Regions from separate parts of the Homo sapiens genome. Here region 2 is linked to region 1. The links are contacts of gene promoters, found by promoter capture Hi-C in blood cells and fetal thymus (Javierre and others, 2016). All regions are on one chromosome and are shown on one strand. The core of a region is centred on a gene start or on the middle of the fragment in contact, and the rest is flanking DNA. Distances in the headings are between cores, read along the strand shown. Region 1 holds the start of OR5W2 (olfactory receptor family 5 subfamily W member 2). Region 2 holds the start of OR4C15 (olfactory receptor family 4 subfamily C member 15).

Region 1 (5,853 bases), core at 3,245-5,744:
TCAGGAGTTTGAGACCAGCCTGGCTAACATGGTGAAAGCCCATCTCTCTTAATAATACAAAAATTAGCCGGGTGTCATGGTGCATGGCTGTAATCCCAGCTACTCGGGAAGTTGAGGCAGGAGAATCACTTGAGCTCGAGAGGCAGAGGTTGCAGTGAGACAAGATCGCACGACTCCCCTCCAGCCTGGGAGACAGAGTGAGATTTCATCTTCATCTAAAAAAAAAAAAGAAAAAAAAAGAAAAAAAAGAAAAGAAAAAGAAAAAAAAAGAAAGATGAAGACACTCATCATTTTTGTATTTCTTTTAAAATACTGCATATCCAATAGTGGGAATAGGTTTACATGTCAGTAGACTCATAGATGTATAGAAAAAAAATGTGGCAACTGAAAAGTATCTTATAAATATACTAGCATGAGGCTTTTTATTATGGGGGGTGATGAGACGGGACTCATTTCTAGAGAGGAAGAGTCTTGTTAAATACCACAGTAATTTAAAGTTGCATCGAGTGCCTAGTTCATAACATGTTTCTAGAGAGAGATATTCAAGGAGGTTAAAAGTCACTGCCTCTGGTTTCAACACAGGACCTCCCATATTCTGCCTCATTGAGCATTAGTACTGCTCTACTTTAACAAGTGTAGTTATACAACCTATCACCATTATGTATTTCTGTTCATTGCATTACATGTATATCCAAATCTACCATCGTATGTCATTATTATGTTTAGGTATTTCAGTGCCAAGGCTAAAGGAAAGGATTCATGATATAGAAATGTTCCTACCTTGTTAACCCACTACACAAAATCATGGGTGATATCAAATTTGGACAATGCTATTTTTCATCAGTCATTGGTGACTGTGTGATAAGAGAGTGATTTAGAGAGACAGAGAGTGGAAGGAAATGGTGGGAATTGAGGTGGACAAGCTAGAACGGATCAAAGCCTTGTAATAAATGTTTTACCTATTTCTGTAGACTCCCAGGATGGAACTGTTAGATCAGGCTATCTGGCCCAAATCTTTATTCAAGTCATGAATATCCTAAGCAATATTCCCAATAAGCGATTTCTCAACCTTTAATTGTACAAATTCAGAGAAATAATGGTTACAATTAATTAATTCAGTTTCTTCCATTTTTAGACCTATGTTTATTGAGCGTAATACCTTGCCTTTGTTGGGGTTGAAATTTCCTTCTCTTTAGGCAACACTCATTATACATGATTAAAGTAGCCAAAAGGCAAATCAAATCAACCTTTTCATGACATAACTGTCATATGTTATATGGAAGGGAGATGACGTGTTTATATCTTAGCAGCAATTCACTAACATTCCAATCTGTCTGGACTTAATAATATTTCAAAGGGTGTTTTCTACCCTGCTGCTGCTCATAAAACAGATTAACAGAAGTGTATTAGTAAATTGAGAAAACATGTCACAAGTGGAAACCCTCCAAACCTGTTTTCCAAAATAAAGCATTCCCCGTAGTTTTTTTTTTTTTTTTTTGCATCAACATACTTATCTATAGCCTGTCACAGTGTCCCACAAATGAAACCTTGCAAAGCAGAGGTGTGTTTTGGGCTTTACTTACATTCTGCAATGTTTTCACAGAAGGACATTTTACAAGGACAGCAAAAAAACCTAAGACTTTCAATGTCTTTTAGATTACACAATCATAAGGGCTAATGAAAAGTGTCATTGAGTTTTGTATGATTTTGCAAACATGTGGCCTCAGCCATGTTTTCTCAACAAGTTTCTCATAGGGTTTTAGCATTATACATTGGAGCAGAGCTGAATGAAAGTAGGTGAACATGAAGAAAGCACCCACATGAATGCCTGTAACTTCCTATGTAATTACTATGCATGTCTTTGTAGACTCATCACCTTGGTATCCATAACCATTTCATTTACTTAGAGCTTAGTGATGAGAAAACATGGGCACATAGAGGAGGCCTTTTGGAGACACACACTGGGGCCTTTTGGAGCGTGGAGGGTGGGAGACAGGAGAGGATTAGGAAAAAATAACTAATGGGTACTAAGCTTTTTACCTGGGTTTTGTATGATTTTGCAAATATATGGCCACATTCCTAGGTTAGGAAATAATCTGTACAACAAACCCCCATGACACAAGTTTACCAATGTAACAAACTTTCACTTGTACCCCTAAATTTAAAAGTTTTTTAAAAACCTATAAAATATATATTCAAAGCACACATTATACCCTCACTTAACTAGACTTTGATATCTCACAAACATTCAAAAATGTTATACCGTGTGTTGGTTTTTATTATTTATCTATTTTTCCATTTGGTGACCCAGAAACCATGCAGATGCTTTGGTTGGGATGACAGGCATAACACATGCAGTCTTTGAGCAAAGAATGCTTGCAGTCTCACACTCGTGGTGTTTGTTCAATAAACAGACTGATAGATAGAATAGTACCTTTGAAAGAGTATTATATATGAACCACAAGAGGGACATTTAAATAGGGCTAGAAATAGGAAGAAGGGAAGAGAAGCAGAGTGGAAATGAATAGAGAATATCAACTCAACTAGACTTTACTGCATGTACCACTTTATCCTTCAATTCTTACATGTTGGACTTCCTTTCCTCTAAAAAGGCATTGCCCTGTCCACCTCAGGATGTCTAATTTTCAGCCTCTCTATCTAGAATCCTTTCTTCTCTCCACCCACCCATTGGATCTCTATGAATTTTTAGATCTAAAACCAAATGTCCCCATTTCAAAGAATCTTTTCTTTTCTTCACTCTAGTTAGACATTTTGTTTATGCTTACAGTACCCTGCCTTTTGACTTCATGGCCTTTTATAGTTTATTATGAATTATTGGTTAGTTTGATTAATTAAATGTTTCCACTATATTCTATGACTCACTAGTACAGAATATAGTGGATTCAGCATGAAATGCAAAGTACACAGCAATGTGAAAGGCATGTACTAAACACTCAATAAGTCTTAGAAAAATTACTGCCTGTCACGCCCGTAATCCCACCACTTTGTGGGGCCAAGATGGGTGGATCGCCTGAGGTCAGGAGTTCGAGACCAGCCTGGTCAAAATGTTGGAACCCCATCTCTACTGAAAACACAAAAATTAGCCGGGCCTGGTGGCAGGCACCTGTAATCCCAGCTACTCGGGAGGCTGAAGCATGAGAATCACTTGAACCAGGGAGGCGGAGGTTGCAGTGAGCCGAGATTGCACCACTACACTCCAACCTGGGCAATAGGGTCAGATTCCATCACAAAAAAAAAAAGAAAAGAAAAAAAGAAAAATTACTCTGAAATATATATTAAACAAATAAAAATTTGCCCCACTAACTCAAAGACTGGAGCATTTTTCAAATATAGAGAAATTACCTTACCTAAATTGAAAACACATTAAAAAAATAGCATATTTAGACAATTCCAGAGAATTGCTAGATTGTGGCTGAGTAAAATATGTATTATATTAAATTAGGGTATTTGAGACAACTTTATGTTATAATATATAATTTGAAGAAAACACCAGTATGAATATGCATTTTTGTGTGTATAAACATGTATTTTTACTATTTCCTTAAAATAAAATTTTATTTTTCAGTTTTTTCAGGGCCTCTTTCACATCCTTGTTCCTCAGGCTATAAATCAGGGGGTTCAACATGGGAACCACAAGGGTGTAAAACAATGAGGTCATTTTATCTTGATCTAGAGAATAGGAAGAACTTGGCCGGAAATACATAAAGAGCAGAGTTCCCTGGAAAATTGCAACCGCAGATAAGTGGGAAGTGCATGTAGAGAGAGCTTTGAACCTCCCCTCAGCAGAGTGTATCTCCAAGACTGATAGGATGATATAACAATAAGAAATGAAAACTCCTGAAATGGTACTCAGTTCAATAAAACCAAAGACGGTGAATAACACTAACTCATTGACCTGTGTATCTGAGCGAGAGAGTAATAAGAGAGGAGGGATATCACAGAAGAAATGATTAATCTCATTAGACCCACAGAAGCATAGGCGGAAGGCCAGTGTCATATGTATCAAAGCATCTGCTATTCCCACCAGATAAACCCCAGTCAAGAGTAGATAGCACACTCTGCTAGACATGTTGACTGTATAGAGCAGGGGGTTGATGATGGCCTTGTACCGATCAAAGGCCATCACTGACAGCAGTAGACACTCAGAATCTGCAAAGATACAGAAGACCAAGAATTGCAGAGCACAGCCATAGAAGGGTATTGACTTGTTCTTGGCAAGTAGATCTACCAGCATCTTGGGCCCAGTTGCAGTAGAATAGCAGAGATCACAGAAAGACAGATGACTGAGGAAGAAATACATTGGTGTGTGAAGTTGGTAATCCATTCTGATTAAAACTATCATTCCAAGATTTGCTGAGAAATTAATGATATAAACAGCCAAGAATACAGCAAATAGGGTCACTTTCATCTCTGGGTTATTGGTAATTCCCAAGAGAAAAAAATCAGTTAATGAGGAGCAATTTTCCCAGTCCATTCTTCCTTGTTCTTGTTTCAAACTGCTACAGAAATCATTACGAGAATGACAGTCTAGAACTTGACTTTCCAAGATATCAAAAAAAAAATTATCTGTAAAGTAGAACAAGATTTGTTTATGTAAATTATCTTCTTTACCCTCAAAAAGTATCCCAGGTGAGTGTCACTTTCAAAGAGGCATTATTACTGTATTAAAAAAAAAAAACCCTAAAAGTGTCTGCCAAAGGAAGTTGATCAACTTTGAATCTAAACTTACATGCAATTTCTGACATATATCATTTGTCTTTGCTTCTATTGTACAATCTAAGGCAGTCAATTTGATTAAACTGAAAGCTCAGTACAGATCCAAAAGGATGTGAAAGAAACACCATAGTTAGAGTCACAAGGGCCAGAACATACCGGACTAAGCATCTCATATATTTGACAAAAAAGGATCATATTTATTGCATTATTCAAGAAATATATACATTTTTCTACCACTGACAGTGATATTACATGTAAGTTAATAAGAGAAAATTATTATGGTACTGTTTTTGATGTGGTGTCGTTAGTGCTTACTGGAAAAGAAAAATGTTTTATTTAACTGTTACTCATCATCACTGGTTTGTCACAGCATTTATAATCCATTTGGATGACTTATCTGGTTCTAAAAAACAAAAGCCAAATGTAAGTGGTAAAAGAAGTGTGAACAACAGACTACTTATATTTGCTTATAATTGACTTTTTCATTAAAATCAAAATGTGAAGAACAATAAGTGTTTCTGAAATATATAGGCTTCTGTTGCTTGTGTTATATGTGCACTTACTCTTGTGTGTGTGTGTGTGCCTGTGTGTGTCTGTTATATGAAAATTGAAATGTGGGGTGGGTCTGATTGTTATTTCTTCTAGACTTAAATATTATGGCATGTACCTTAAGAACTTGAATTTTCATAAATTAATATCTGTAATGTGTTACCTCTATTATTATTTGAGTAAATCTAGAACCTATCTTAAATTTACATCTAAAATAATATCACAGGTACAGTGATTTTTTAAAGTAATGATTTACTTATGAAGGTTGATTAAAATATAAATGGGTGAAATCTATATTATCCTCTTACAATGACAAGTAAGGTCAGTCAAATTCACACAGATCCAATAAGAAAATATCATTGTTTGGCCATTAGATTCCAGAGGTGCTTCAACTGAGTAAGCATCTATAAAATCATTCATTTGTAAATTCCTTAATACATGATTTCTTATTTTTCCAAAATTTTTCCTCTGTCCTTTAAATTGATCATTCAGAAACCTACCTGAGATGAGCAAGTCTTTCTGTCCTTACCTCTGGTATGTGAACAATAGGCAGATCACATTTTATTT
Region 2 (5,735 bases), core at 1,041-3,540, 360 kb before region 1:
CCACAACAGGCCCCGGTGTGTGATGCTCCCCTTCCTGTGTCCATGTGTTAAAGGATGAGTAAAACCACCTTGGTCTTGGTAAAGCAAAAATTAGTGTAAAAATGTTATTTCTGCTCTGTGTCAATGGCTCTGAGGGCTTGTTCTCACCACTCATCATGATCTTCTATGCTTCTTACTGCATCAGTGCTTTTGTGTGTATTGCTTTCTTATACTCACAAGATATGTATAGATAGACATCATATCCATTTACTGAAGTGGAAGCTGAGGCTTTGAGAATGTTAAGAATTTGAAGTGACTTGTTCTAACATGCCATAGAACAAGTAGGAGAGCTTGGATTTGAACCTACGTCTATATGAGTCTGGAACTGAAGTTCTTACTCATTTCACTTCATCGTATTTCCCACTTTGGCTCTCGGCTAAGCTGAGCACTGTTGGATCATTTACTAACATGCTTTCCTTTGCAATAAATGGTTATTGACTTATCTAATAACCTTATAAGGTTTGTTCCAGCTCATATTTTCCTGATGATAACTTATAACTGTATATGGAATTCCTAGTGCAGACACTGGTTACAAATGAAACTGAAAACATAATGGAAATGATTGTTTTAAAATAAGCAAAAGAACATATATTAACATACACAATTGTATATTTGTTAGTTTTATTAACATTTTAAATTGTTTCTGTTAACTCCAAGTGACATTCATAAAAATCAGCTTATTTAAATCTCAAAATAAATCTCTTTATTCTTTTTTATTCACTTATTTTTTAACAAAGGTGTATACACATATAAATATACACATATACAAATATTCAAACACACACTTATATATGGTAATTGAAAAACACATTTCAATTATATATATATAGGTGAAGACAGAATTATCCTTTAAAGCTGTGTCTGCCTGTGGAAATGAAGTCAAAAGTTGGAGAGTAATTATCTAGATGACTCATGAAAAAGCTTTTTGTAGATAAGGTGGCTGACTTTTTAAGTGAGTAAATACAATTGGTAAGAGCACTTTATTATAAGTAAAATTTTCACATTTTCAAATCTGACCATCATCATAATCCTGAGACATGAGCAGGTAAGCTATATATAAACACCTCTGCTACACAATAATGCATATAAAGTTGAAATATACACTTCTTTTAGGAATTAAACTTCATTAGACCTGATTACTTTATATAAATAATTGGAAAATAATTAATAAAGCCTCAAGATTCCGGTTTATATTCAATATATTGTTTCTCTTCCTTACTTATGTGGTTGATGCCAATTTGTACATGCAAGTGTTTGTAGAAAGGCCATTCCTACTTTGAAGTTCTTACTGGAAAAGGAATATCCCCACTCCTTTCCCTGCTGATCTAGTGGAAAGGAATTGGGTGTTGGAGCCTGAGATTTTGTGTTAATATCCCAGATTGTCTGTTATTTGCTTAAACTTAACTTCTTTAAGCATGAGTTTCCCACCAATCAAATAGGAATAATAAGACCTAATGCAGACCATTCCCTAGGGCAGTCGGTCCTTAGCCTTCCATTGTTTCACCAGTTATCATAACAACATTCTGTTGTAGGCATTATTACTTTTATAATAATAATAAACTTCTGTTTTCATTTTAAAATGACAGATTTAAGAAAACACTCCGCACTTAATGCATACTTTTTATGTTTTAAATGTCAGGCTAGAGATTTTTCTAAAGATCTTTCTCTTTTGTAAAGAATGAATTCAGTTAAGACTTTTAAAGAAATATTTGAAGAGCAGCCATAATTTTTAAGTGCCTCTTGAACTATACGCTGTTTTCTTCTAGTTGCAGATAAAGCAGTCTCCCGATTAGGAATGGGATGCTGGTCATCCCTGCTCTCATTTGATGCCAATGGCAGAAATAAGTAATAAGTTACAATGCTCCTTCTCTCAAAATTTAGAGGTAACTTCAGAATACTTCTCAATAATTCACTCCAGGAAGCCACTAGTAAATGATCAAAGCTGGCACTTGATATGAAAACTCTTTCTCTTCTCTACCACATATCCTTCCCCCATATTGAACCTCTTGTTTCTTTCAAGTATTCTTTAAATTATCTCTATCACAATTCTGTCTGATATTTCAGTACTACCTTCAATAATTTCTAATTTATGTTCTCAATGACAACAGAAGCACTCAATAATTTTGCACTTGGATGTACCAACTTGTTAATGACTATGATACCACAAATTGATCTGAAGCAAATTTTCCTTTGTCCTAATTGCAGACTATACATGATCCCTGTTGGAGCTTTCATCTTTTCCTTGGGAAACATGCAAAACCAAAGCTTTGTAACTGAGTTTGTCCTCCTGGGACTTTCACAGAATCCAAATGTTCAGGAAATAGTATTTGTTGTATTTTTGTTTGTCTACATTGCAACTGTTGGGGGCAACATGCTAATTGTAGTAACCATTCTCAGCAGCCCTGCTCTTCTGGTGTCTCCTATGTACTTCTTCTTGGGCTTCCTGTCCTTCCTGGATGCGTGCTTCTCATCTGTCATCACCCCAAAGATGATTGTAGACTCCCTCTATGTGACAAAAACCATCTCTTTTGAAGGCTGCATGATGCAGCTCTTTGCTGAACACTTCTTTGCTGGGGTGGAGGTGATTGTCCTCACAGCCATGGCCTATGATCGTTATGTGGCCATTTGCAAGCCCTTGCATTACTCTTCTATCATGAACAGGAGGCTCTGTGGCATTCTGATGGGGGTAGCCTGGACAGGGGGCCTCTTGCATTCCATGATACAAATTCTTTTTACTTTCCAGCTTCCCTTTTGTGGCCCCAATGTCATCAATCACTTTATGTGTGACTTGTACCCGTTACTGGAGCTTGCCTGCACTGATACTCACATCTTTGGCCTCATGGTGGTCATCAACAGTGGGTTTATCTGCATCATAAACTTCTCCTTGTTGCTTGTCTCCTATGCTGTCATCTTGCTCTCTCTGAGAACACACAGTTCTGAAGGGCGCTGGAAAGCTCTCTCCACCTGTGGATCTCACATTGCTGTTGTGATTTTGTTCTTTGTCCCATGCATATTTGTATATACACGACCTCCATCTGCTTTTTCCCTTGACAAAATGGCGGCAATATTTTATATCATCTTAAATCCCTTGCTCAATCCTTTGATTTACACTTTCAGGAATAAGGAAGTAAAACAGGCCATGAGGAGAATATGGAACAGACTGATGGTGGTTTCTGATGAGAAAGAAAATATTAAACTTTAAAAAATCCAAAGTTAAGAGTAAAAAAGGTCAAAATGGCCTTAAATAAAAACTTAATGAGATACATCTTTCATGGCAAGAGATAAAGTAATGCTAGAAAAAAATCATTAATGTGGGATCAGAAAACTTATGTGTCCACCCTCAGAAAGCACAAATATGCACCTCCTCAGTCACCTATATAGGCCTAGTCTTACCCCGTGACTCCAAGGGCTCACAACCAACTGCATATTGCACCTCCACTCCCTTCCACCTCTGCAAACTAAGCAAGACATTCTCTCTTTTCTAGGACTAGTGGTTTATTTTAGGCTCTGGGTTCCCTCCTTCACTCTACTTGCCAAACCGTTATACCAGGCGGCTAAAGGCCCTCTCCATGAGCCTTTAAACCCCACACAGCCTATTACCCAACATTTCCATCCTCCAGAAGGCTCTCACATCAGCCCCCATTCTCACTCTCCCAGACCTCACCAAACCTTTCTCCCTCTATACCGCTAACCAGCATGGAGTTGCAGTAGGTGTTCTAACCCAGTCTAAGGGACCCATCTTCCAGGTTGTTGCCTACCTCTCTAATCAGCTTAAAGCTGCAGTTCATGGATGGCTTGCTTGTCTCTGAGCTTGGCAGCAGCTGCTGTCCTCACTCTTGAAAGCCTAAAATGATCTCTCCATGCCAACCTAACAGTCGATTCAACCTGAAACATCAAAGACATGTTAGCTCACTGCTGTGTACTAAGTCTCATCTCTGCCCCACAGCTCTTCCAACTGTATGCTCTATTCATAGAAACTCCCCACATTACCATGCTAACCAGCTCCCATCTAAACCCAGCCATGCTCTTACCTGAAGCTACAACCACCCAAGACCCTATACAATTCGGTGTGAATGCTGCTCTTACATTTTTCCAAACATAACAGACCAACACCTTCCAGATGCCTCCTTTACTTGGTTTGTAGATTACCCAGTCCTGCTCTGTCTGCTACTCAGTATCACCCCAAGGTTCCCTCCAGCCACAGCCTTTTCCTACCCACCAAGCCTGGGGCCTGGTATCCAGGCAAGATTGGCAAGTAGACTTCACTCACATACTGCCCAATAAATGGTTCTACTATCTTCTAGTCTTTGTCTGTACTTTCTTCGGGTTGGTAGAAGTGTTCCCAACAACTTCAGAACATGCAAATGTCATCACACAAACTCTCATCATGCATATAACTCCCCATTTTGAACTCCCAACATGCATCCAATCCAATAACAGGCCCGCCTTTTATCAGCCAAATTACCTAAGGCGTCTCTACACCCTTCAGGCCTCAATCTTCAGGCAAAGTTGGAAAGGTCAACTCTGTCCTTAATGCCCAACTCACCATGCTGGCCTTAGAAACCTGCTAGTCGTGGACAAAAAAAAAGTTCCCTTTTACCCTCGTGAGACTCCATGCAACACCAAAAGCACCCTTTTTATAGTCCCTTTGAAATCATGTGTGGCCAAACTTTAGTCTTAGGGCCTTCACCCTTACCAGACTCTGAGCCACTCAGGAGTTACCTCTCCTCCTTAATCCAGACATGGTCTTTCATTAGTGAAACAGCAAATGAGGCCATACCTCTCCCTGTAGACACCTCCTTGTCCTCTCAACATAAATGTCTTGCAGGCACAGACATATTTATCTGCCAACCTGACCCTCACCAAAAACTACAACTGAAGTGGACAGGTCCCTTACACTGTGATACTCAGCACACCAACTGCAGTGAGAGTCTAAGGAATCCCCCACTGGGCCCATCACACCAGAGTCAAGCTCACCCCCAAGGCTACTCCTTCCTCCAAAACATTAACTGCGGTTAACACACTGGGAGTCCCTGTGTATAATAACCTAAACAAAGAAAAATGATCCTTAAAGGTAGGAGGAAGCTAAAGATGGCAAGAAGACGAATGGCCTCCATAATGAATCATTGAATATTACTGTCCTGGCACTTGGGCTGAGGATGTTTCATGGTGTTATCTCACTCCCATATATATGCTAATTAGAATAATTAGATGACAGGCAGTTTTAGAGATAATCGCTAACCAAACTGCCTCAGCCCTGGAAATGCAAGCACAACAACAAAACCAAATGCACGTGTCAATTTATCAAAACAGGCCATTGCTAGATTAGCAGAAGAATGTGGGGTCTGTGGCAAGTTTAATATCTCCAATTGCTGTCTTAACATAGATGATCATGGAAAAGTGGTTCTTGAAATCACTTCAAACATCGGAAAAGTAGCCCATGTACCAGTCCAAACCTGGAAGGGATGGGACCCAACAAACCTTCTAGGAGGGTGGTTCTCTAATTAAGGAGGATTTAAAATACTGGTAGGTACAGCAATCTTCAACAATGGGTTCCTTCTGTTTTTTCCCCTGTGTTATCCCACTAATAGTAAAAGCCATTAAATCTCTTGTTGAAACTACATTTAGTTGCCAGACAATCTAGATGATGCTCCTCCTGTAACGACACAATGGATATCAACTGGTCTCTCAAGAAT

What was found. The method cuts DNA at HindIII sites, captures the fragments that hold promoters and counts their contacts. A CHiCAGO score of 5 or more calls a contact.
Region 2: the fragment with the promoter of OR4C15 here is called in contact with the fragment with the promoter of OR5W2 in region 1 in 4 of 17 cell types (neutrophils, total CD4 T cells, naive CD8 T cells and 1 more); the score reaches 5.9 in neutrophils.

What each region holds. Positions count from the first base shown.
Region 1 is chr11:55,910,088-55,915,940 of GRCh38, forward strand. It overlaps OR5W2 (olfactory receptor family 5 subfamily W member 2), which reads right to left and starts at 4,495. Exons shown (of 1, transcript NM_001001960.1): 1 at 3,563-4,495. The coding sequence starts at 4,495. The coding sequence ends at 3,563. The HindIII fragment of the contact is 7,753 bases long and covers 2,031-5,853 here.
Region 2 is chr11:55,552,179-55,557,913 of GRCh38, forward strand. It overlaps OR4C15 (olfactory receptor family 4 subfamily C member 15), which reads left to right and starts at 2,291. Exons shown (of 1, transcript NM_001001920.3): 1 at 2,291-3,241. The coding sequence starts at 2,291. The coding sequence ends at 3,241. The HindIII fragment of the contact is 1,344 bases long and covers 959-2,302 here.